Regions from separate parts of the Homo sapiens genome. Here regions 2, 3, 4 and 5 are each linked to region 1. The links are contacts of gene promoters, found by promoter capture Hi-C in human tissues and cell types (Jung and others, 2019). All regions are on one chromosome and are shown on one strand. The core of a region is centred on a gene start or on the middle of the fragment in contact, and the rest is flanking DNA. Distances in the headings are between cores, read along the strand shown.

Region 1 (5,288 bases), core at 1,543-4,042:
AAAGGTCATATAATGGCAGGCAGGCGGTTTATTTACTTCAGATAATTAATAGAGAGTTCACCACTGGGGAAGCAGCAGAGATATTGCAATACTCTGACAATAAATCCCTTCACAAAGTTGTCTCCCACCTATGCCTGTTCCTACAGCTATGTGCAGGCAGATCCCTTGCACAGCCTTCTTCTCTCCTCTCAGCAACATCTGGACAGCTTCTTGGGGTGGAATATTTAGTTTTAGGTAACTGCTTATGTAACTGAGCTCTTCCTTCTGGCCTTCTTTCCTCCCTCAGAGGAACTCCCTTAAAGGTATCATGTGTCAGATTTCATCAGGGAATTTGAGAAGTCCCCTGGAATCTCCAAGAGAAAGATCTTTTTCTCATATGGGAAAATTACAATTAAAAAAACTAACACTCTGCCATAATAGCTTTCTGACCCCTTATTAAGGTGCCAAGAGCATGCTACAGAGTCCCAGTATTCAAATGAGTAGGCAACTAACTAGGTAAAGCAGTCTACATAATATGATGATTTGTAGAATGACATTTCCCCCAAGCCAAAACTGTTTTGTTTTGTTTTGTTTTTCCCCCTTATCCCTTTCTCATGAGGTCATTTTTAGGAAGGGAGGGTGGCAACAATCAATGGACTACTCTTAGGAAGTTTATTTAGTTGTTTGTAAAAGCCTGGGTAGGAAAATTCACAAATGCATATTTGTAGTTATTCGGCAGCCTCTAAAAATTACAGTCTTGCTGTATCTCCAGAGTAGAACATTTTCTGTCCCATTAGTTGTTTTCCCTCCTATGAGATGCTAAAATCAAGGACATTGTATGAACTGAAAGACTTAGATATCACGCCCAAGCCTTTTGCTCTTCTATCCTTTATCAGATAATTCATGTTTTAGAATAAATTCCCCCTTGAAAATGTGTGGTAGGTAGAATTTTGCTTTTAATTGGTGATTGGGTGAAAGGCTTTGGCCCTTGAGTTCCTCCATTATATCAATATAGGCAGGATCTTTTCTCCATCAGTGGGAATGTAAATGGTAATCAGCTCTTTGCAATATTTGCAAATCAATATCTCTTTGGGACTTAGCTGGGTTTCAGTAAAGAGAAGCACCAGGTAGATAAGAGAGGGGTCAGTATAGAGAATACATCTATAAACCTTTAAGCTGCACCAGTAAGTACAGATTGAAACAAACAAAAAAAAGAGCTTACTGTCTATCTCTAATCCCAAATAAGTAAGCACATTTATTATGTGGTTGTAACATAGAGACTGTTGTTTTAAGTGATCCTTGGAGTCCAGCATCTTAAATAATCTGGAGATCCGTGGTTATCTTAAGAAGGCTTTAAGGACCAGACATTTTTTAGAAGCGAACTCAGACTCAGTTGGCAGGGTGGCTCTCCCACCGCAGAAAGGCTACATGTTTTGTTGGGCATTGATCAGGTGCGCCGGGAGGCTGGATGCCTTGGGGGAGGAGGAAACCCACTTGGATTTCTCCTCAGCAAGGCAGCTTTGGCTCCGGTAGAATGTAAGGAAGGTTGGAATGGATTTCAACAGTCCTTTACCGCACATCTTTAAAATGAGTTTAATAGCTAGTAATTAACTCCCTCGTTTATTATTCCTTCAGCTCTGTTGAAGGCTGTACTCCCTTTTAATGTATCATCATCTGACACGAAATACAGACAAAGGTCAGATGCCACGGGAGACCCACCTTTGAGGTTTTCCTTTATACCTAATGAAAGAAAACAAACTTAGCAGTCAAGCTTGGCTGCCCTCGCAATTTACTGCCTGGAGCTGGTCTTACCGTGGTTAAAGAATGGAGGATGGGGGAAGCAAAGGAGGGATGTCTAAAAATACAACTGCTTCCAAGAGAGACATTCAAGTTCTCCGCTCAAGATGGATTAAGCCCCACTCTGAGGCTCGGAGGCTCGGATCCCACAGGCTGGGAGCGCTGTGCTGTGCCCGGTACCCAACCCAGGTCCTCGACCCCGGCCCCTCACTGGCAGGGCGGCGACCCCCTGGCCCCTGGCTTTGGTCTGCTTATTGATGTTAGCTGGAGTCACATGAGTGCAGCAGCTGGGAGTCCGCCTCTGGAAAGAAGACAGGCAGGAGCCAAGTGAGGGCAATCCTGAACTAGCTTTTTCTGGGCAGCGCATCCCGTGTAGCCAGCCCGGGAAAAAGCCTCTCACCGAACACCAGCCCGGGGCGCGGGGACTCGGGGACCCGAGGGGCGGGGAGGGGCCCCCAAGGGCTGGGGACTGGCAGAATTGCTCAAAATGGCAGCACTCTCCGCACGCAAGATCGCTCACTTACCCAGGGAGACCGAGGGAGGTCGGGGCCGGCGAACGGGCGCTCGGGCGACACAAAGGAACCATGGAGAAACTTTTTCAGCCCGAGCCGACGGCGGAGCGCAGGGACAGCGCCCCGGGGCCCCGCATCCGAGCGCGACTCAGCAGCCCCGCGGGGGCGAGCGCCCGCCCCAGGCTCGCAGTCCCCGCCGGCGCTGTGGCGGGAGCCATTTCCAAGAGTTTCCAAGAAGTGTCAGGTCCTCCGCATCCCGCATCCCGCATCCCGCCTCGGAGCCCTCCTCTCCGCCGCTCATCCTCCAGCTCCCGGCGTCCCCTAGCGCGGCGCTCCCGGGCGGGCCCCTGCGGCCGCGCCGCCGGCCCTCGCGCCTCTTTTGTGTGGCTGCGGCGCGCCGGGCTCCGCCGGGTGGAGTTGAGCCCGCGGCGGCGGCTCGGGGCGGCCGGACTGGCGGCTGTTGCTAAGAGACCGGAGCCATGACACAGGGAAATTGCGGCAGGGTGGCGGTCGGGGCCCGCCCGGCTCGGCGGAGTCGGGGGGCGCCCCCGCCCCCGCCCCCCGCCCCACCCCCTCCTCCGGCGCCCCCCCCCACGCCGCCGGCCTTCCCCGCTCCCCCGCGTCCTCCGCCGCCCGCCGCCCGTCCCTTCGGAAGCGCCGATTCCTCGGGGAGGAGGAGGCGTGAGGGGAGGCGGCGGAGGCAGCCGGCACGGGGCGCTCGGGCCGCGGGGCAGGGGGCGCGGGGTGCCTCCTCGGCCTCGGCTCTCCCCGCCCCGGGGCGCCCCGAGACCGCCGCCTGCCTCCGCGGGCAGCTTTGTTCTTCTTTCCTCCAACTACCTGTCTGAGCCGCGGGCCCCAGAGGCCCCAAAGAGAGGCCCGGAGGGTCTCCCCAGCAGCATCCGAGGGGCGCTCTCGGGGAGCTAGGGGCCAGAGTCCGCGGTCCCTCCGTGCCTGCCTCCCTCCCCTCGTGCCTCGGTCTTTTGTTGCCTCTACTCCTCGGCACGGCGCAGCCTGGGCTCTCTTCCCCCTCCCGCTTGGGAGTTTGCAGTGTGGACGCTCGGCAAGCACAGTAAGTTGTCCCCCAGCGAACTCGGGCCCGGGCGGAGTGGAGCCGCCCCCGCCGGGACGGGCGCACCGCGGGACGCTTGGAAGCCTCTGCCAGATGCGCTCGCGCTCCAGCCCCGCCGGGCTTTGTGACCAGCCTGACCGGGACCCGGCAGCTGGGGCTCCTCGGAGATCAGAATGGGCTCCGGGGCTCTTCCTTGGGCAGCCCCTCCTGCTCCTCCCCGGTGCGGTAATCAGCAAGCATTAAAAGGAAAACTATAATTCTCCAGGAATCAGGAATCAGGGTTGGAATCAGAGAGGGGAGGTGGGGGTAGGGAGGATGTCCAAACTCCCTACGTCATTTAAAAAAGAGAGAAGGCGAGAGAGAGAGAGAAAGAGATCGAGATCCTGTTTCCTAGTTCATCCCTGTCTTCTCAACTGTAAAGTAAAAATGACAGGGAAAAGAGAATTTCAAAGTGGAATTTCCCCAAAGAGTATTGAGAAAGTGAGAAAGATTTCATTTATCTATTGAAATGAGGCAGCCAGGATTCAGGAAGAAAGGAACAGAAGAGCAGATGAAGCAAGTGCTGTCTGAAATTTTGGATCCAGATAAATATTTTGGTGGTGGTGGGTGTTATATATTCTGAGTTTTGCTGCTTAGGGGTCCACAAAACCCACACAGGAGGGCTCTGCTGCCCGCAGCTCCTGTTACAAGATTGTTCCCCACATACACAGCATTCACTTGTGCTTAAATCTAGAGCAGACACTTTTCAAAAAGAACAATAAAGACAACCAATTTACAAGTTCAATGATATAAATGTGAACAGTGATCTAAGAGATGGGGATAGAGACGGTGGGGGACAGGAGGGAACGAAGCAGAAGTGTTTTCTAAAAGGCAACCCTGCATTCACCTGTTGGAAAGGTGGCCTCTGTCACCCTTTTCAAGCAAATAACGAATCTGAATGATGATCAGGGTGTCCGGAACCCACCGCCTTCCCCCTACCTATTCATGCTCAGATTCAGGCTATTAGAAAACAAACCATAATGAAGGGAAAGTTTTAAATCCCACATTGGGTTGTTTCCTTTTAGAGAAATCACTGCAAAGGAAAAATAATAAGATCTAGTTGTCGTTTTCTAAAGCCTTTTTGGCTCTGAACTTCCAGATCTCCTGAATCCCAATAATAATCTGGTATTTTTTACAAAGATTGGGCCTACAGTCTCATTTCATTGCACAGCTAGCTGCCAGAGTCTATGGGCGGCAGTTCCTGTGCTCTGTTTGCTGGGCTGTACAAACAGGAATAATACTGCAGAACTTCATTAGGATTTTAGGTGGATTAAACTGCTAATAGTTTCAAGTTTCTGTGTAAATTATAGCCATCATTTGCACATTTAAAACTCATTTGAGGGATTTGGAGAAGAAAAGAATTCTTTTCTAGACAAAGGGCCTTGGGACATAGCTAGTTTTGTCTTATGTTGATGATTGCAACAAAATTTATGGCTTATTACTCAAAGGCTTCCTTCCAAACTGCGCTTTTTGGAACTTTGAACTGTTTAACCTGAATGTTATCACGTTCAGTAGTTTTCTTTGTTTTCAGCTCATGGTATCAGAGGAAATCAAGCAGATCACATCTGTTTCCAGCGGAGTCCGTTATCCCCTCTGTAATACAGAATCAACATACATTCCCAGGGGCTTTCAAGTTATTAGAGTTATTTTTAAAGGAACAAGGATACTCTTGGCCCTTCTGGCGTTATTTTCCTTCTAATCTCCCTGGCCATTTCAGTTTGGATGATTTCCGAGACTGTGGGACCCCACTTTCACCGTGCTAAGGACTGAAAGGCTACAACTACCTAGTCTTAATAATTCACTAGTGTCTCCAGATTTTGGAGCTCAGCACAGCCTTCTGACCTTGTAGCAGGGAACATAATGAAGGCCCTGGGAAAGTAAGAGAAGAGGAT
Region 2 (5,288 bases), core at 1,206-3,705, 210 kb after region 1:
AGCCAATATTTTATAAAAGACTATCAGTCTAGGCAGGGCGCAGTGGCTCACGCCTGTAATCTCAGCACTTTGGGAGGCCAAGGCAGGCAGATCTCCTGAGGTCAGGAGTTTGAGAACAGCCTGGCCAACATGATGAAACCCCGTCTCTACTAAAAATACAAAAAATTAGCCAGGAGTGATGGCGGGTGCCTGTAATCCCAGCTACTCTGGAGGCTAAGCCTGGAGAATCACTTGAACCTGGGAGGTGGAAGTTGCAGTGAGCTAATATAGTGCCATTGCACTCCAGCATGGGCAACAAGAGTGAAACTCTGTCTCAAAAAAAAAAAAAAAAATGAAAAAAGACTCTCAGTCTAACCTAAAATATATGAATAGATATTTTCATTTCTATTAAATTTAGGTAGTAAAATTATAGAAAAATCAAAGAAAGATACCATCAAAACACAACTTGATTAGTCTAATATTAAGAGCAACAACAGGTCATAGTGCCATAGTTTTTACTATACATGATACCCTGAATTAAGTTTCCTTTATATATTAGCTCATGCAATTCTCAAAATACCCCTGTGAAGTAGGGACTGTTATTATCTGCATTTTATGGATGAAGGAACTGGGGTACAGAGGTTAAAGAAGTCATTGTAGGCCAAACAGCTAAGAAGTTATACAGATAGGACTGAATCCCCAGGCAGCTTGATGCCAGGGTCTAGTCTTTTAACTACTCTGCCAAACTGCTTCTGGGGCTAGATTTTTCTCTGAAGACATTACAGAAAATAAAAATTATGAAACACCTGGCACAATGCCTTGTACATACTAGGTACTTTGCCAAATGGATACTGATGATATTAACATATTTATATAACACCCTTGGTATTGGTGGTTGTATATGGAGAAGAATGAGTAGGGAACATAGAATACTTTGAGGGAATTTGAGCTGTTTAGTGTTTTTAAAATTTCATTCCCGAATGTACTGAGTTGCTGCAAGAATAAAACATGGTGAAAAAGGAATTCTTTAGAACAAAGGCACATTCTCTGCATGGGATGAACTGTAATGTGGAGAACTGGCCATCTGGATAATTTCTTATGGGGACAAGCTGTAATTTATAAAACCCTGAGAAAAGAGAAGAAAATAGAGAAGAGAGAGCCTTGACTTTCTGCCAGAAAAAGGCTTTAAAGCTCTATCCTAGCAAGTTTTAAATGGAAATTTAAATATTTCATACCCACATATACACATACTAAAGCTGCACCTACCCAGTCAAATACAACATTTTACCTTACACAGCTTTACAAGCATCCAAATAGTATCCTATTTTGGTTAAAGTCAGGATTAGGAAGCAAAAGCCTCTGCCATTTAAATCCATCCACAAATCTCTGTAGAATGTCCCTGTATGCACAGCCCTGGACTAGGGATGTGGTGCCCCAAATATGGCAAGGGTCCCACCTCAAGGGGCTTTGACCTGGGGACTACAAAAAATGTGAATTACAAACCTGAAAGGCAAATGTAGGCAAATATTGCTGTTTATTATAATTATGTATATGTTTAAAAATGATATATCATAACAATAGGCATATATACTTATTAAGCATTTAATATAAAACCAGGCATTAGAATAGTGCTTATGATTTCATTAATAGTGCACATTATTTCATTAAATAAATATAATATAAAGAAGTTAAGTTTTCATAAAATTGCTCCTGTTGCCGCCCTTGTTGTTTCCTAGTTTGCTGCAGAGGAGGCAGAGGCAGGTTCTTGAAATAGGACTAGCCTCAATCAGTTCAAGAGAGGAGACAGAGCCAATGGGCTGAGGGGTGGGCCTGGGAAGGACCCTTCCTTGTGATGGGGACCAGAGGACAATGTCTGGCTAGGAGCTCAACTGATCACAGATTCAGTTGGCTCTCGAATTGGGAAAGTGTCTAGACAACGGTCTGGAAGATCATCCTCACTGCGCGGGCTGTGAGGAGCAGCCTGAGGGATGGGGACAGGACCTGGACAGCATGCAGGCGGTCTGGGTAAGTGGCTGCAACAGAAGGAGTTGTTGGATCTGAACACACTCTACAAAAATAGTGGTACTTGGAAGCTTAATAAATTTGGGAGTTGTTAAAGAAAACAATGGAATGGAAACTCATGAGTGTGATGATAAAGATGGGAGGGCAGAGATGCTGATGTGGAGCTAAGATAATAAACGTTGTTACTAACATTTTAAGTGACAGGACTGCCATATAATTCTGGATTCATTCTGCAGGTGAGCAGAGGTAGAAAACTCGGACATGAAGATGACTTTTGGGGCACCACCAGCAGATGCCTGTGGCTGAAGCAGAAGATAGATGCATTCTCAAAGTTTCAGCCTGCTCACAGATTGGCCACTGCACATTTCGTGTATCTATTTAATATTGCCTGGAAATCTCCAAAGGTTTTACCGAACACCACTTGTTTACTTTGTACCTTGTTTACTTTGCCCAAGTGACAAGTGAGAAACAGGATTAACCACTTGAGCTCCCCCAAAAATCGCGTGCCATGCCAACAGGAAGGAGCTGGTCTGAAGAGGCTTCCTCCCCCATCTACGTCACTTGCAACACACTCCTGGAGTGGGGTTCTCATCTAATTTGAGCAAGGAGACTCTCAGCCCTTGCTACACTAACTAAAACAGGAGTGTCACGCATGGTCCCTGGTCTCCAACTGCAGTCCAGGTTGTGGATAGTTAATGACAGCCATAAATGGTCGAGCACATATGCCTTAGTCTAAAGATACTTTCAGACATGAACAACATCACTGCAGCCAGGGGAAGACTCCAGGAGGATGTGGGACTTGTGCCTGGCACTGAGGGGAAATAATATTCAAAACAGCAGAAAAAGTTTTCTTTTGTCTTTAAATTCGTCAATTTAAAAAACTGTCTATAAAAAAACAGTTACAATAGAAATTTTCCAGTTGCATGTGTTGTTGGCAAATCTGTGTGGATAAGCTGGTATATTAAGCTCTCTAGATGTGTTAGTTATACAATCTATGAAGACTGGAACTAGGTCCAATTTGCAATAATATATATTATTCAGGACCATGAACTGCTCTCATCATGATTTTATAGAATGGGATTTCACAGCTAGAGTCACTGACTAGGAGTCCATCCATTAAAAAAAAATTAATTGAAACAGTCAATCTCAGGGCATTTCTAGAGCTCAGAAGCACTAGCTCAATGCCTGTCCCATTTCTCCTCCTCTGGGCCTTCTGAGGGCCCCCTCTTTTGCTTTTTGGGGTACATGTGGCTCTCCACATCCTCAGATTCAACCAACCACAGATAAAAAATCTTTGAAAAAGAAACTCAAACAATTAAAAATAACACAAAAAAACAAATATAGTATAACAACTATTTACTTAGCATTTACTTTATAGTAGGTATTACAAGGAATCTAGAGATGATTTAAAGTGTACAGAAGAATATGTATATGTTATAGGCAAATACTACACCACTTTATATAAGGGACTGAGCATCTTCAAATATTGGTATTCTCCAGGGTCCTGGAACCAATGTCCTATGGGTACCAAGGAATGGCTGAATTGAGACTTTCAAGGGACTATGAGTCTATGCAGATGTGTACTTTTAGAGGGAGTTTAAGGTAGGGATGGTCTGGAGGAAGAAAACTAGTGAAGGTACATCAGGATTTCTTTTTGGTTTTATAACATGCAGTCTCTTTCTCAATAGATCACATGATCTTTTCTCTGAAAAATGGCCAATATCTTTTAGATCAATAGTGGACCAATTTTTAACCATGAATTTAGATCAAGACTGGACCACTTTTTAAGAAACGTTTTTCTGTTTCCTTCTGATTTTATTTTTTTATACCATGTGCGCAGGCATTATGTGTGTGCATGTATGTAGACAGATTTAGTCATTGTCATAACCATTGTTATGAGGCTTGCATTTCTCGTTTCTAGGATAATCAACTCCAAGTTCCTGGGCACCAGTGACAGCCCTGTGGGTGACACAGTAGCTGTCCAGGACGTCCCTGCCCCTTTGCTGGCCTGAGCACCCCTCTAATAGGCTACATGCTCTTCTTGGAGGCCCTTTCTGAATGATTCATTAATACCATTCCAGAGCCTGTTTGGGGTCAAAATCCTTGTGAGAATCTGCTGAACATTGTGGAGCCCCTGGCTAAACAAATGCCCACGTGCAAACCTACACAAAACCAGCAGATCTGTCAGTGAGCTCACAGCCCCCTTGGAAGCTGCCCGTGCACCCCAGAAGATGCCAGGAGGCCAGGGAGAGTCTCAACATGCAGAGGATCCCTAACAACTATGGGTCCCCGATCCTCTCTTTATTTAAAAATGAGAGAGATTTTCATTACTTCTTCAAACTTTCATTTGGTCTTTTTCTAATATTTCCTTTTTCCCTTAAATAAAAGAGAAGTGGAAGGTCAGTGCACCCTCCAGGCACTGAGTCATCTGTCAGCCCACGTGCACTGGGGCTGATAGACTCTGGATCTGGACCAGGGCAGGCCGAGGTGGACTCGCACACGGGGTGAAGGAGGAGTGGATGGCATCAGTCTGTAGAGCCAAGGACGTGCCTTAACACAGTTATTTACTAATGGCCCACAGATATGATTTAAAACAACTTTGTGGTGAAGTATAATAACTCAGTCTACATACTCCCTCCCAGGCTGGGAGTGTCTCTGCTTCTAACGGGAAACTCTAATGCCATTTACATCTCAGACCCCTATTGAGTTTCAAAATTTAATCCACTGGTAGTAGAGTGAAAATATGTTGCACTTACCATTATTTTGGAAATGTCATCTGTACATTTATGAGAGTCAGTTTTTACACACACATACACATACCTGGTCTGCTTTTGTATCTCTCTCTCTCGTGTGTGGTGTCTGTATGCGTGTGTGCGTGCATGTCAGTGGACACATGTATGTGTGGGGGCTGCATGTGTGTGTGCATGTGAATATGTGTGTGTATCCACATGTATACATGTGTATGTGGGGGGTTGTATGTGTGGCATGGGTGGGTGGGTGTGTACATGTGGTTGTACACGTGTGCGGGGTGTGTGGCTGTGTGCACATGGGTGTACATGTATATGTGTGGTGTGTGTATGTGGGTGTACATGTGTACGTGGGGGGTTGTATGTGTGGCATGGGGGGGTGGGTGTGTACATGTGGGTGCACATGTGTATGTGTGTGGTGTGTTTGCAGGTGGTTGTACATGTGTATTGTGCAGGATGTGAGTGTGTGCATGTGGGTGTACACATGTATGTGTGGTTTCTGTATGCATCAGAGAGGACATGGTCAATGACAGCTATACA
Region 3 (5,288 bases), core at 1,182-3,681, 190 kb after region 1:
CATGATTGTAAGTTTCCTGAGGCCTCTCCAGCCATGCTGGACTGTAAGTCAGTTAAACCTCTTTCCTTTATAAAGCACCCAGTCTCAGGCAGTTTTTTATAACAACATGAAAATGGACTAATACATACATCTACATACACATGTGCATACATGAACATCAAAAAGGTACAGAGAACAGGTGGCAATCTGTTAACCCTAGTGACCTAAGCATGCAGCATCAGAGTTAGGAGTGGAGAATGAGAAATTCTTAATTTCTTAAAACTTCTACATTACTGGAATTATTAAGGTGGACATTTTCTTATATTTTTCCAAACATCTATATGTTATGCTGTTTGATAGAAAAAGGTGTGGATATTGTTAATGTTTTTAGTTTTTATTTTCTTCTTTCTACTCAACTGTATTTTTTCTTTTCCCATAATAAGCAAGTACTGCTGTAATAATGAGAAAAAGATCATGTTAAAGTCCCACTTTACTCTTTACAATGAGTAAGAAATAATTATTTTCAAACCAGGTTAAGTATACAGATGATAAAATGCTTGCTGGTGCTCAGGCTGCAAGGTTTTATTTTTCTGGGGTGCGGGAACACTAATATTTCCTCTACACAAGTTGCTGTGGACATTGTAGGACACACTGTTCTGTGGCATTTAGTCACTGAAAGCCTGAGCCAAGGCAGGATTCCAGAAATCCAGAGATTAAGAATAAATTTTAAAATTCTTTACGAGAATCAGCTCGGAAAAATATTTTGAAGACATGGCATGGCATCCATGGGTTATTTCATAACGTTTCAGCATAACTGTACATTCATTTAGGAAATACAAGACTCTAGAGACTCCAGTGAGGTGCCTAAAAAGTGAGGCAGGTGGAGACTGGCAAGAGCTGGGCCCTTCCATCTCATCCCAGATCCTCTCCATGCCCCTGAGCTGATCCGGGCACAACTCATTTCGTTTTCCATATGCACAATATTCAACAGAACCTTTTTTCCCTTAGTGGCTGGGCCCTTTATGATAGGTGATTACTGAAAACATTTTGAGCATCACCCTTTCTACTCCGCATTACTTCCCTATGGCACCTGTCAACCAACTGTGATTTTCTCTTCATTTATGGTTTGCTTTCTTTATTCCTCTTCCATCTCCCCTACCTGAAAATTGGCTCCACACAAAGATGGAACTGGTTTGCTCACCTCCACATCCCTAGCACCTAACACACCACTTGGCAACAGCAGCAGCTCCACACATACTTGTGGAGTGAATGAATATCGATGTCATGAGCGAATCAGCATGCCTACTGCCAAGTCTGCACAGACAGGAGCCATCCCACCTAAGTTCAAATCCTTGTCCTGACACTTACTAGTTTGGGTGATTTTCTTATCACCAAGGAAAAGCTTGATAAGAACAAGGATTTTTGTCTGTTTTGTTCCCTGCTCTATCACTAGAGTTTGGAACAGTATTTTCTAAATATTTATTCAACAGACAAAGGTTGAATGAATGAATATGTCTAATTTCGGGACCTGGCTATGGTCACGGTGCTGAATTCAGCAAGATAAGTGTTAGTCAGCTAACTACATACCAAAACCAAATTCCATTCTGACTGCATCTTAATTCTAGGGCAGGTGGTGGTATGGAACAGTGAGGAGAGCAATGAGCTGGGAGTCAGAGGGCTCAAAGGGGCCACCATCAACAGTGCTGATGAAATAGCAAAATTCTTTGGCATTGGTGTCCTTGTCTCCACATTGCAGAAGTTGAATTAATCTCTTGAGTCCTTTCCCTCCGTAGAGCTCCTAGGTTGTCATGCCTGGCTAGTGGCTCCTCAGAGTCTGAGTGGAGGTGGGGAGCTGGAGGGGGGCTGCTCTGAAAGGCCTTGGGATTTCCTGTCCAGCCAAAACCCCCTATAGGGCAAGAAGAACTCTGGTTTGTCATGGTGTTTTGATCACTACTTTCTTGATTAAGGGGCTTAATTTAGTTATAGATACTGAGTATTATCTTAGACCAAATAAATAAAGGTCTAAATTCCTGTGGTTGGTGTTGAGGTGTGTGATATACACACCGCTAGAACTGGTCCAACTGCAAGACTTTAAAATCAATGGTTTTCATAAAAATGGAGAAAAGACATGGAACTATTATTTCAATAGTCTCTTCTATGTGCCAGGCCCATTCATATATCTATAGCAATATCAATGTCTATATCTACCTACATCTATATTCCTATACTCTAAATCTTATATAAGCCTCACATTTATGACCATTTTACAGGTGAAGGAATGGAGACTCTAAGAGAAAAACAGATGTATATGATGAAATCAATCAACTTAGGTACACTAAAGATCTATAATGTGAAACATAAAGAAGAAAAAGCAAAAGCATAAATTGTTTCTTCCCTTTAGCAGCCTATAGTCTTTTTGAGAAGACATGGCATATGCACAACAAACTATTAAAAAGGTACATGCAGACACACAAATAAGCTGCTGATATGTGGTGTGGACCAAAAGGAGAGAGGGATGCTGAGAGCAAGGATAGGACTGGCTCTGAGAAAGGATAGGACTGGCCTTAGCAAGGATAGGACTGGACTGGACTTAGCAAGGATAGGACTGGCCTCTCAGGGCTGGCCACCATCCTTGGCACCTAGTAGGTTGCTCAAAATCTATTTAACTTGTTGAGTGTCTAGTATGTGTCAGGTATTGCAATAAGTGTTAGAAATAGAGAGACACATAAAACACAAACTCCAACTTCAAGAAGCTCTTACAGATTGGAACTGCCACAGAACTCCAAGAGAGAGGTGAGCCGTGGGAAAGGGAGGAGATGCAGGCAGGAGTAAATGAGGTACCAAGAAAGGAAACAAAGGCACAGTGCAGGAATGAAAACAACACTGCAGGCGATGATGGGGAGTGAGTGGGGCCAGTAAGTAGACTCTACCTCCCAAAGCAGAGAATTGAGAGAAAGTGAAATTGAGGAGTGAGAAAGTGAAAGTAAGAAGTGAGAAAAAGGCTGGTGGATTAAAGAACCTATTTACTCACTTGGAAGGTGAATGTGTGGGACAACCAACTAACATTGTTATAATTCTGAGGGTGGAGATCATAGAAGGTACTTATGTTGCAGCCAAAATAAACTAGTTGGCTCATGGCAGTGCAGTTTATCACCAAGATCATTAAGGAACTATTCCACTACATGCCATCCTTTCTGATTACCACAATTTTCCCCAGGCATTTTTATTACTAATATTAGCTTTCAAAAAGTGCGTGAAATTTATAATATGGCAGGCATCAGGAAAAACAAAGTGAGCTTTATTAGGCATTTTCTTAGATTTTCTTAATAGCAATGATAGAATATGACAGGTATTTTAACGAATGGTGGTGCTATCAATTGTGTGAATTAGAATATATTAAACAATGCTTCTGGGAGGCAAAGGAAGTTATTAAAGAACACTTAGGCAGGTAAAAAAATGCCTGAAAAAAAAGTCCCCCTCAGGCCTGGGGAAACCAGCTAATAGACAATATGGGGAGTAGAGGGGAGCTGCATTCCAAAGTAATTTTCTTTATGATGAAAATGTTTTAATGACTCATTATATTCTCTTGTTGCAGGTAGAAGCCTTTAGTATACTATAATAAAACGTGCTCAAGACGGACATTTTGTATTATATATAGTATAAATAAGAAACATCAGTTTGGGGAAAACATGGTAAGATTCTTCCCTTCAGTAGTTCTATTATTATTATTAAACTTTAAGTTCTGGAGTATATGTGCAGAACGTGCAGGTTCTATTTTCACAAAATAAGAAACAGACGCATCATAAGGTGACTCTGAGAATCCTAGACATCAGTAGAAAGTAAGACTAAATATGAACCTAGCTGGGCTTTTTCAAAGCCTTAAGCTGTCATTCTTTCACTAGTCTAACGTAGTTGAATTGCACGTGGGATTTTTTTCTACTTATCATCTGCATGACCTCAGACACTACCTAACCTCTCTGAACTTTTAGATGCCTATGTTATAAAATCTGAATAAGAAAACTTACCACATACAGGGTTGTTGGGAGGATGAAATAAAATTAACACTATGATGTACACAAATTGTTTAGCATAACGCTTTGCAGCCCCAAGTAAGTATGTGCTATTAATAGTAGATAGTTATTATCATTGATATTTCTGGCAATATGATTGCTAATGTACTGTACTGAAAATATGCTGTATTTAATCAGACGACCTATGTTTCAGTCCCAGATAAGCTTACCAGCTTACTATTTCCTCACCTATAAATGGCAATATTATGATGAGAATAATGTCTGCTTTGCCTAAATTACAAAATTATGGGAAGCTCCAAAGGTTATGTATGTGCAAACTATAAATGGTTAAATGGATTAAGGTATTTTCTACTCTACTATATGTACCCAAATGAAAGAAACTCAAGTGTAAGCTATTCACCTCCATTTAATGCACCACGAATGTAATACTACCCACTCTATTAGCACAAATAAAAAAGGAATATATATGGGTTTTCAGTAAATGGTGACTTACTGTGATATTGTGAGTATGACTCTTTACAGTTAATATAACATCTGTATCTTACTGTTATAAAGATAACTCTTGCAAACGTCTAGCAGTACATATATAAATCTCTCAAAATAAAAACATGACTCTCTACTAAAAAATGTGAACATAAATAGACTATTTCTACCACTAAATCATGCAGTGGAGTCATATATTTACTAATTATAACCCTGATACAAAGATTAATATAAGAGCAAACATGTTTTTTAAAAATAATCAAAAAATTGGGTTGCAGTTAAGGAAAAGAAAAAATTATCCAAATTGTTGGGCAATATCTAACCAAATTTGGAAGCTTATCAAAGTTAATTTTATATTTTTCACTTGAATTACAAGAAGTCTGGATATATATAAATATATGTGTATATATATTATATATATACACACACACACACACACACACACACACACATATATTTCTTTTTTTTTTTTTGAGACAGGGTCTCACTCTGTCACCTAAGCTAGAATGCAATGGTGTGATAGCTCACTGCAGCCTCTGCTTCCCAGGCTCAAGTGATCCTCCCACCTCAGCCTCCTGAGTAGCTGGGACTACAGGCACATGCCACCACACCCACCTATTTTTTTTTTTTTTTTGTATTTTTTGTAGAGATGGGGTTTCATGATGTTGCCCAGACTGGAACTCTGGATATTCTAATGTGACAAATGTTGCTTGTATAAAAAAATTACAGAAGGCCTGTCCAGAGCTCAATGGTGGATGGCTTGACTGGAGGCCAGTGGAAATTATAGCTCTGATT
Region 4 (5,288 bases), core at 1,533-4,032, 170 kb after region 1:
AGATTCTTTTTTCTTCATCTTTGACTGGGTTAATTCTAGAGCCTGATCTTTGAGCTCCAAGATTCTTTCTAGTCTATTGAAGAAACTTTTCCACTGTATTTTGCATTTCCCTAAGTGTGACTTTCATTTCCAGAAGTTCTGACTGGTTTTACTTCATGACATCAATCTCTCTGGAAAATTTTCATTCATATCCTAAATTTAAAAAAAAAATTTCTTTATGTTGTTTTTTACCTTTCTCTAGTATCTCCTTGAGTAATTTAATAAGCAACCTTCTGAATTCTTTATCTGGTATTTCAAAGATTTAATCTTGGTTTGGATCCATTGCTGAAAGCTAGTGTGATTTCTTGCGGATGCTGTAGAACCCCATTTTGTCATATTACCAGAATTACTTTTCTGGTTTCTTCTTATTTTGGGTGGACCATTTCTTCAAATTGTTCTTAAATTTATTTTTGATTTGACTGTGTTTTTTTCTTTAATTTCTTCTTTTCCCTCTTAAGGATCTGACTTTAATGTTTATCATTTATTATAGCCTAATTTGATTCTTAATGCTTTTAGTGGGGAAGACTCTGTAGGAGTTCCTTAAAGAGAGTTTTTGTGCGCTGGCTTTCCCAGACGCTGGTTGCAGTAACCATGCATTTGGCCTGTGGGTAAGTTCACTGTCTCCTGTAGGGTTGGAATGGCTAGGATCTCTTGAAGCTTATCTCATTCTCCCATGGTGTACACCTTTTTATTTATTTAATTTTTTCCCAGTATTTTATTTACTAAGCTGATGATTCAGCCTTCAGGCCAATAGGAGAGGTATCCCTGGGGTAGGTATTGGTGGTAGCTAAAGAGATGCATAGATATATCTAATGGTGGGCAGAGGTCCCAGCCTTGATGAAGGTGCCTGGGGGAGCTCTAAATTAAATGTGCTGAGGTTTTATCAGAGTGAAGGGTGGAAGCCACCTCAGCTCCCCTGCCAGGCAAGCAGGAAAGCTATCCACCTTCCTGTCCCAGTATTCCAGCTATTCAGATCAGACAGGTAACTCTTTGCATCTGTAGGAATGTTGATGTTCCAAGTAGAGAGGAGTTGTGACTCTGCAAGCCTGAATTTGAGAAGTGCTCCTCCTGTGGGGATGCAATCACCCTAAATTGTTCCTGGAAGGCCATCTATATGTGCATCTACACTGCATTCCTCTGGGAGAAGCCCCAGCTGTGTGTGCAGTGGTGTACCAGTGGGAAAAGGACCCCCTTTCCAAGCCCCTTTATGATCAGAGATGCTGCCTGATTGTTGGGGTAGAGGTGTAGACTTTCTTTACTGCACCCAGCACTGCAATTGTGTCTCTGCTATAAGAAACGTCCCACTAGTGGAAAGATCTGGGACTCAAGGCCTGCCATTCAGATTCTTTTTCCCATGGGATGTTCCCTTGATGTGATGCTCTCCCCCTTCCCCTAGGAATGAGACTTCCTGAGACCCAGACCACAGTGATTGTTAGTGCTCTTCTGGGTCTAGATACCCAGTGGGACTACCACACTTTGAGCTGATGCTGGGGAATGTCTGCAAGGGATCCAGAAATGTGAACTAATTTCAAGTCTCCCAGCAGTGTACACCAGCACCATCTTTGATGGAGATGGCAGGGCAGTTACATACACTCTGTGAGATTTCTTGGTTGGAGATAAGGCTTAGTGTGCTGGATTTCTCAAATGAGAGTTACAATTGCAGTGAACTTGCCACATGGACAGGCTCAGGACCTCTGGTTAGTCAGGGTGTTGTACGCAGTGGTGATATCTGAGGTCACATAGTCATTTTCTCCTTCCTGGGCGCATTCTACCTAGAGGTGCTTAATGGACTGTGTTGGATGGCCTCCAGCCACGAGGTGGCATTTGCAAAAGAGCAACCAGCTGCAGTAGTAGCAGTGGGATTTAAGCTTGCCATAAGTTGCTGCAGGAAAGTGTTGTTTTTTTTTTTCCTCAGGTGACAGGCAGGGCTATAAAGTTCCCCAAAGTTTATGTCCTTTGTGTTAAGCTACCAGGGTGGGTGAAGGGGCACAACCAAGTGAGGGCAGGGTTAGGCGGGTCTGTGCTCTGACTCTTCTTGAGCTGGGCTAGCTGCGGCCACTGTGAGGATTGGGAGGTGGTTCTCAGGCCACTGGGCTAATGTTCCAGAAGGGAGTATAACTGCCTCTTCTGCACAGAAGAGTTCACAAAGGTAGTGGGGAGGAGCAGGCAGCAGTAAGCCTCACCCAGCTCCCATGCAGTTGGCGAGGCTGATATCACTCACTCAGTGCTCCAATAACAAAGGCAAAAGATGACTCAGATAAATAACGGTGACTAATGTGTTTACAAAATTAGATGGCAAGATAGAGAATTTTACTCAAGAACTAAGGTCTATTAAAATCATACATAGGTAAATTGCTAAACTAAGAAATAAACAATAATTTAATTAAAAATTAATTACATGAGTGTAATAGCAGTTTGGAGACAGCTGAAGAGAGAATCACTGATCTTGAAAATAGGCCACTAGAAAAATATCCAGGCTGAAGCATGTACTAAAAACGGAGGGGAAATAATGAAAAGAGCTCTTAAGACATAACTAAGAAAGTCTAATATATTCGCAGATGGAGTCTCAATAGGGGAAATGAGAGAGAATGGAGCATAAACAATATTTGAGGAGATAATGGTCAAATTTTTCAAAGTGGTAAAAAGCCATACACCCACAGATTTAAGCACTATGAATCCTAAAGAGACAAATATAAGGCACTTCATAGTAAAACTGCTAAAAATGAAAGACAACAGAAAAATCTTATAAGTAATCAGATAAAATGTGACACACTCCAAGACATACTCCTTTCAAACAGACACAATAAAGCTACAGCTGACTTCTTGAGAGAAACAATAGAAGTCAGAAGCCAACGGATTACCATATTTAAAGCCTGAAAAAAAATTAACTGCCAATCTAGAATTCTATAACCTGTAAAAATATTCTTCAAAAGTTTGGGTGAAAAAAGGATATTTCTGGACAAAGAAAAACTTACTCAAAAAAAAAAAAAAAATCAGCTAGGCCAAGCGCAGTGGCTCATGTGTGTAATCCCACACTTTGGGAGGTCAAAGTGGGCAGATTGTTTGAACCCAGGAGTTTGAGAAAAGCCTGAGCAACATAGTGAGATCCCATCTTTACAAAAAACAAAAAACAAAAAACAAAAAAAACAAAAATTAGCCGGGCATGGTGGCACACACCTGTAGGCCCAGCTACTCCAGAGGCTGAGGTGGGAGGATCACTTGAGCCCCGCAGGTTGAGGCTGCATTGAGCTGTGATCGCACCACTGCACTCCAGCCTGGGTGACAGAGTGAAACCCTGTCTAAAAAAATAATAATAACTAGAAGACACTATGAATGAAGTACAAAAGATAATTTTTCAGATAGAGGAAAAATGATTCTATATAAAGATAAAGATGCATTTTGTAGTAGCTGGGATATCTACTAACAGAATATTAAAAATAAATAAACAACAAGCTAATAGAGGGAGAATGGTATACTCACATGAATTTTGGTTTAAAAAGATACAGCAAAAATATAAAATTGAATACAAACTACTGAGAAAAATAGAAAACAATTATAGAGATGGTAGCAATAGGCTGGACACAGTGGCTTATACCTGTTATCCCAGCACTTTGGGAGGCCAAGGTGGGGAGATCACTTGAGGCTAGGAGTTTGAGACCAGCCTGGCCAACATGGTGAAACCCTGTCTCTACTAAAAACACAAAAATTAGCTGGGCATGGTGGTACACATCTGTAATCCCAGCTACTTGTGAGGCTGAGGCATCAGAATCACTTGAACCCAGGAGGTGGAGGTTGCAGGAAGCCAGGATTACACCACTGCACTTCAGCTGGGAGACAGAGTGAGACTCTTTCAATTAAAAAAAAAAAAAAAAAGATAGTAGCCCTAAGTCCAACTTAACACTAATAACATTAGATAGAAATGTATTAAATCCTTCAATTAAGAGACTCCTGTTGACTGGGTGCAGTGACTCACACCTGTAATCCCAGCACTTTGAGAGGCTGAGGTAAGAGGATTGCTTGAGTCTGGGAGGCCAAGGTTGCAGTAAGCCATAATCACGCCACTGCTCTCCAGTCTGGGGTGACAGAGATAGATCCCATAAAAAAGAAAGAAAGAAAAAGAAGAAAGAAAGAAGGAAAAAAAGAAAGAGAGAAAGAAAGAAAGAAAGAAAGAAAGAAAGAAGGAAAGAAAGAAGGAAAGAAAGAAGGAAGGAAAGAAAGAAAGAAAAAAAGAAAGAAAGAAAGAAAGAAAGAAAGAAAGAAAGAAAGAAAAAGAAAGAAAGGAAAGAAAGAAAGAAAGAAAGAGAAAGAGAGAGAGGGAGGGAGGGAGGAAGGAAGAAAGGAAGGAAGGAAGAAAGATTGTTATTAGATTGGATTTACACATAAAAATCACACGCCACTTGGAAGTGTCACATTAAATATAAGGACAATGATGGAGCATATAAAAGGACGGAAATAAATATAACAAACAAATACTAATCAAAATAATACTGCTAATATCAGACAAAGGAAACAAAGGTAAGAAGCAATTGGAGAAATAAAATACATATTTCAAAATGTTGAAGGGTCAATTGATTACTAATATTCTAATGTTCTAATTTTCATGAGCCTAGTAATATAGCCTAAAAATGTGTATAATAAAAGGAAAACCAGGTAATATCACAACCATAGTAGAGGACTTTAACACATTTTTTCAGGAATCAAATGAATAAGCAGGAAGAAATGTATCAGTAAAGATAATAAAGATCTAACGGTATGATTAACAATTGCTCAGAGTATACTCTCTGACCACAGTGGAATAAAATTCAAAATCAATAACAAAAAGTTAATAAAATCCCCAAATATCTGGAAATGAATCAGTATATTTCTTCATACCACATATAAAAGAAAAACAATGTAAATGAGAAAATATTTTGAATTAAATTATTATGAAATCTGACAAATCAAAACTCATGGAATGCAGGAAAAGCCATGCTTAAATTAACGCTAATATAGTTTTAGGTGCATATATTAAAATATATTTAAAGGCCGGGAGCGGTGGCTCACGCTTGTAATCCCAGCACTCTGGGAGGCCGAGGCGGGTGAATCATGAGGTCAGGAGATCCAGACCATCCTGGCTAACACAGTGAAACCCTGTCTCTACTAAAAAACACACACACACACACAAAAAAAAATTAGCTGGGCGTAGTGGCGGGCCCCTGTAGTCCCAGCTACTCGGGAGGCTGAAGCAGGAGTATGGCATGAACCCGGGA
Region 5 (5,288 bases), core at 1,569-4,068, 140 kb after region 1:
CAAGGATTAGCCTGAGGTATAAACATAAGGTCTCCTTAGGTCTTTCCTGGGCCTGTACCTTTCCCGGGCCATACATAGTCATTTTCTAACTTCTCCATACACATGGTTGCTTTTGGATGTTTTAGTCTTTAATGTCTGGTCCCAAAAGAAGAAAAGAGAAAAATGACGGGAAGGGGGTAAAAAATAAAAGTGCACTGGCTTTTTATATTCCCTGAGTCACTTCAGTTGGTGGGGCTTGCAACAATGCGGGGAGATGTGACAACAATGCTCACCACCTCTTTGCACTTCTGTGATCGGAAGCAGCAATCAGCAGTCAGAGCACAGATCCCTGACCTTTGGAAGACAAGACCCTTTTTGCCCACCCTTGCTCCCACGAGCAGTGTGTAAGCTGCTCCAGGAACGCATGCATACCTGCCTGCCACAGGGGTGGGAGTGTGAAATGGGTAACTACTACTGTGCTAAGATAAGAGGTGGAACGACTGAACGTAACTGCAGTTTACCATGTTAACCACTATTTATTGTCCAAGCAAGCCTTTCTCTGGAAGTTGCAAGGCTTTGATAGACTCCAAGACTCTGGAGTTCCAAAACAATTGCATCAGACAGATTCTGCCAGTGCAGTTATTGTCTACAAAGGGAGGATTCCTAGTGATTCCTACTCCAGTATCTTCCAGAATCTTCTCCCAAGAAGCATCTCATTCTTGCAGTGGAGAAATTCATTAAAAAAGGCCACCACGCTCTACATGGAAATTTGTGCAGGGCACTTCCCTTGGAAGTATAATGCAAGACTAGAAACTTGATTTCTGTAAATCTCGGGTTAAATTAGCTTCACATCTACTAACAGGTGAAGTATTCTGCTTGCAGTATGCAAACAGATAACTGGTAGAACACAAATGTGTAACTATAGCCAACATAACTGCAACCAACTGTAGCCTCTGTTAACACAGGCTTAAAGGATTGTGGTTTAGAAAATTTTACTCTGTCCTTCTGCATAATGACATTTGAAATCATATAGGAGAGGCTTAATAATAAATATTAGGGAATATTTAGATGTTTGGCTAATGTATTAAAGTGCTGGTTGCTCTGAACAGGGAAATAAAAGGAGGAGTAGGCTCCTGATGAGTAATTGGCACTGGGAAGAAAGAAGTTGATAGGATAACTTGGAGAGAGGATAACGGGGTGAAATAACTCTTGCACCCACAGACAGGAGAATACGTACTTTGGAACAGGTTAAGATAAGTGGATAAAAAAGGAGTGGGAAGTATCTGTGTAATGTTCTAGTTCAATGACAGAGAGAGAAGGGCAGGGATACTGATTGAATATTTATGTCACAATGAGATTTAATCAATATTGATGCAGATAAAATAACTTACTTAGACATATTTTTAACAGAGATACCAGAAAAAAATTCTAGAGGATACTAGAAATCCATTTCTGGATCTTTTTTTTTTTTTTTTTTTTGAGACAGAGTCTTGCTCTGTCGCCCAAGCTGGAGTGCAGTGATGCAATCTCGGCTCACTGCAAGCTCCGCCTCTCGGGTTCACGCCATTCTCCTGCCTCAGCCTCCGGAGTAGTTGGGACTATAGGCGTCCGCCACCGCGACCGGTTAACTTTTTTGTATTTTTAGTAGAGACGGGGTTTCACTGTGTTAGCCAGGATGGTCTCGATCTCCTGACCTCATGATCCTCCTGCCTCGGCCTCCCAAAGTGCTGGGATTACAGGCATAAGCCACTGCACCTGGCCTCTGGATCATTTTTTGACTGGTAACCTGACTTGGTGATCCTAGTAAAAGACAGCAACATTGATGGGGGAGAGCGGCACTTCTGTTAAGAAGTATAGTGCAGCAATGTGAGGAGGCATCTAAGAGAAATAAAAAACAACAACAACAAAAATGCCTACATTCCACTGAACTACAAATATTATTCAAGAGAAAACTTGACAGTCTTTGCCTCATAAATAATTAGCAATTTTGTCACCCATTTTTGCATGTTATCATTAATTAGGTATTGTGGATTGAATGTCTGTGTTCCCCCAAAATTCATATGGTGAAATCTTAACCCCCTACGGTTTTTGGAGATGAGGATTTGGGAAGGAAATTAGGGGTTATATGGGGTCATAAGGGTGGATCCCTCATGATGGGATTAGTGCCCTATAAGAAAAGACACCAGAGAGCACCTACTCTCTCTCTTTCTTTCTCTCTCCCCCAACCTCCCTTCCTCCCTCTTCCCCAACCCTCTCTCCCCCAGCCCCATGCATACACATACAAAGAAGAGGTCACAGGAGCACACAGACAGATGGTAGTAGTCTACAAGCCAAGAGAAGAGGCCCCAGAATCAAACCTACCCTCCCCAAACTGTGATCTTGACCTTCTAGCCTCCACAACTGTGAAAAGTAAATTTCTGTTGATAAAGCCACCCAGACTGTGGTATTCTGTCTTGGCAGCCTGAGCTGACTAATACAGTTGCTATCTAGGATTGCCTGTGATTAAAACACTGAAGGAAAAATAAGAAAATTTTCTCTGCTTTTAAAAAGAAAATACGCTGCTCCACCCACATTTTAATGCTAGAGTCGGCTCTTTATCTTCCCACATATTCTCTAAGGACTATTCACCCCAATCCCTTTCTGAATGTCTGTGCTAAAGAAAAGAGCCTTCACTTTTTGAGTTTCCCCCAATTTAAACCAATGCAAATGAAAGGGTAAGGAAAGAGTGCCCTAGATCCTTTCTTTTGGATATTTCTCTTATTTGGAGTTGTGCAGATTCTCTTAGTTGACTGATATTTTAAAAATTAAGTATGCCAGTGGATTTATGCACACACATACACGCATACCCTCTTCCATCCTGTTTCCTGGGCCCTAAGCCTCTCACAGTGACACTTGACCAGCGTGGTTATCTCAAAGTCCCTTCATGCTGGGTAAGCTTCCGCCTTTCTAGAAAAGGGTCAAGTGTCTTTGAAACTAAACTCCAGTGCCTGGCTAACCAATGACTTTGTACCAATATCTAGAACTAGAATTAATAGTTGATTATGATACTGCTGATTGAAATAAATAAGTAAAAGTATCTGAAAAATTAGACGATGAAACAAAACTTACAATAATAAAAATAACACAATGTTCATTAGCTTAAGTAATATGATTATCGAGAATGTCAGGATAGCAGGAAAAATTATGTATTTTCAAAAACTCGTTTTCAAATATTAAACTTTTTTCATTCTCTCCCTTTCAACTTATAAGAGTAATGCATGTACAGTAGGAAACATGAGAAATTTCAAAAGGCCAGAAGAATATAGAAAGAAATTAAAAATACTTGGAATCTTACTTCTCAGAAATATACCCTGCAAGGTATTTTGAATTGTAGTTCATTTTTTTTTCCTGTGCAAATAAATAAATAAACTTTTAAAAATTCAACACAAGAGATCACATTAAAGATTTCCTCTAAACCAGTGGTCTTTCAACCAGAAGCAATTTTGTCCCCTTCATCCTGGAGATATTCAGCAATATCCAGAAGCACTTTTGGTTGTCACATCTTGGGGTGGGAGGGTTGCCTCTGGCATCTAGCGGGTAGAAACCAGGGATGCTGCTATATATCCTGTTCCAATAATTAAGAATTATCTGACCCAAAATGTCTATAGCATTGAGATAGAGATATCCTGCACCAATCCATTACAGAACCAAAAACTTTACTAATTACAGTCTACTCCATACTGCAAACAATTACTGAGTACCTGCCGTGGGTCTGTATATACAAAGATAAATATAATTCAGTCCCATCTCTGTTGAGTGTGGGTGATAGACAAGTACATAAACCTAAATGAGTAAACTTTTTACTCACATCTCTTTTGAGACAAGGAGTCCTTTGAGTGGCTTAAGTCACTCAGTGCTTGAAACCTTCATTTCAAGGTTTATGAAAAGAACCTACATTAGTCCTAGTCTGAGAAAGAGAGACACCTGAAGGTGGCAAGCCCCTAAACCATCCTATTCTTGGCTCCACTCGACCCTTATCCTGCCATTCCCATGGCTGGCCTTCTGCTCTCCACTCTCAGTTGTAGGGTCACAGGGGAGGAGATTAAGTCAACATAATAATATATTTACAAATCACATAATTTCTATAAAATTTGAGTTGTTTTTTGCCTTGATTCCTAGAATTTAAAAAAGTAAAACAAGAACAACAGCAAAACTTGTGATCTGTTCAGAAAATGTGTCACAACAAAGAAATAGCAGTGGCTGACACTTTTGACAGATTCCCAATCAGGAGTCAGGGGTTGTGCTGTTTCACCTCTATCACATTATTCAATCCTCCCAACCTGAAAAGATGGCATAGCTGGCCCCAAATCTCAGCAAGGACACTAAGGTCTGGAGATGGGGGCGGACTGCCCAGTACATGCAGTCTATCAGTGGTGGAACCAGGAGATCCCTGCCATTGGGCCTGCAGCTGTGGAGCCAGCCGCTTCTGGATCTACCTTACTGCCCAGGTGAGCATGCTGCAGAGTGAATCTCAGGCCATGCCCACCACATCTGCCATCTCGTCTTCACCAACTTGCTTCCAACAGGTGAGCACCCATTGGGGTCTTCAATGGACTGGCCCCCCCTAATTTCTCCAACCTATTAATCTTCTTTCTTCATTGTCCTTTTCTTCAGCTTAGGCTGAAATTGACTTTTTTTTTTTTTTTTTTGTCTTGCAAATGCTCCACATCCCCTTATTTCTCTGTCTTTTCTTTGTGATCATTTGGCAAAAATGGCAGTCGGGAAGAGCCTCACTACCTGCTCTTCCTGTGCGTGCATAGGCTGTCATGAAGGCAGAACGTGTCCACAAATGGTTCCTGCTTACCAAGCACAGAGAGGTCCAGCACTCGCAGCCACACTATATACCCTTGCTTTGGTTTACCTGCTTTTCTATGCGCCCAGTGGACTGTTTCATTCTTCTTTTATTTTTTTTAGATGGGGTCTCACCCTGTTGCCTAGGCGGGAGTTCAATGGCACAACTGTGGCTTACTACAGCCTGAACCTCCCAGGCTCAAGTGATCTTCCCATCTCAACCTCCTGAGTAGCTGGGACTATAGGTGTGTGCCACCATGCCTGGCTAATTTTTTTTTTGGTATGGATGGGGGTCTCACTACGTTGCCCAGGCTGGTCTTGAACTCTTGGCTTCAAGTGATCCTCCTGCCTTGGCCTCCCAAAGTAGTGGGATTATGGGCATGAACTACCACCCGGCCATCTGTGAACCATTTCGAACTTCCGCTTCCTTCAATATTCCCATACAGGTTTCCCCAACTGCCATACCTCCCCAAGCCCTC

The links. Contacts are between HindIII fragments. The study calls those that stand out against the background at their distance.
Region 2: a fragment that was not itself captured here is called in contact with the fragment with the promoter of TMEM200C in region 1 in 2 of the 25 tissues and cell types used here (IMR-90 fibroblasts and lymphoblastoid cells).
Region 3: a contact is called between a fragment that was not itself captured here and the fragment with the promoter of TMEM200C in region 1, in 2 of the 25 tissues and cell types used here (IMR-90 fibroblasts and spleen).
Region 4: a contact is called between a fragment that was not itself captured here and the fragment with the promoter of TMEM200C in region 1, in 3 of the 25 tissues and cell types used here (bladder, dorsolateral prefrontal cortex and lymphoblastoid cells).
Region 5: a fragment that was not itself captured here is called in contact with the fragment with the promoter of TMEM200C in region 1 in 2 of the 25 tissues and cell types used here (H1 embryonic stem cells and mesendoderm cells).

The regions. Positions count from the first base shown.
Region 1 is chr18:5,892,730-5,898,017 of GRCh38, forward strand. It overlaps TMEM200C (transmembrane protein 200C), which reads right to left and starts at 2,793. Exons shown (of 2, transcript NM_001395400.1): 1 at 2,301-2,793. The region is part of intron 9 of MIR3976HG (MIR3976 host gene); the gene reads left to right. LOC121725015 (a long non-coding RNA gene) reads left to right here and starts at 2,998. Exons shown (of 3, transcript NR_172505.1): 1 at 2,998-3,357. The HindIII fragment of the contact is 12,914 bases long and covers 1-5,288 here.
Region 2 is chr18:6,105,486-6,110,773 of GRCh38, forward strand. All of the region lies in intron 14 of L3MBTL4 (L3MBTL histone methyl-lysine binding protein 4), which reads right to left. Among named protein-coding and RNA genes, the nearest start is that of L3MBTL4-AS1, 150 kb to the right of the region's middle. The HindIII fragment of the contact is 6,013 bases long and covers 1-5,288 here.
Region 3 is chr18:6,085,680-6,090,967 of GRCh38, forward strand. The region is part of intron 15 of L3MBTL4 (L3MBTL histone methyl-lysine binding protein 4); the gene reads right to left. Among named protein-coding and RNA genes, the nearest start is that of L3MBTL4-AS1, 170 kb to the right of the region's middle. The HindIII fragment of the contact is 4,180 bases long and covers 342-4,521 here.
Region 4 is chr18:6,067,497-6,072,784 of GRCh38, forward strand. All of the region lies in intron 16 of L3MBTL4 (L3MBTL histone methyl-lysine binding protein 4), which reads right to left. Among named protein-coding and RNA genes, the nearest start is that of TMEM200C, 170 kb to the left of the region's middle. The HindIII fragment of the contact is 5,309 bases long and covers 129-5,288 here.
Region 5 is chr18:6,036,814-6,042,101 of GRCh38, forward strand. The region is part of intron 16 of L3MBTL4 (L3MBTL histone methyl-lysine binding protein 4); the gene reads right to left. Among named protein-coding and RNA genes, the nearest start is that of TMEM200C, 140 kb to the left of the region's middle. The HindIII fragment of the contact is 3,462 bases long and covers 1,088-4,549 here.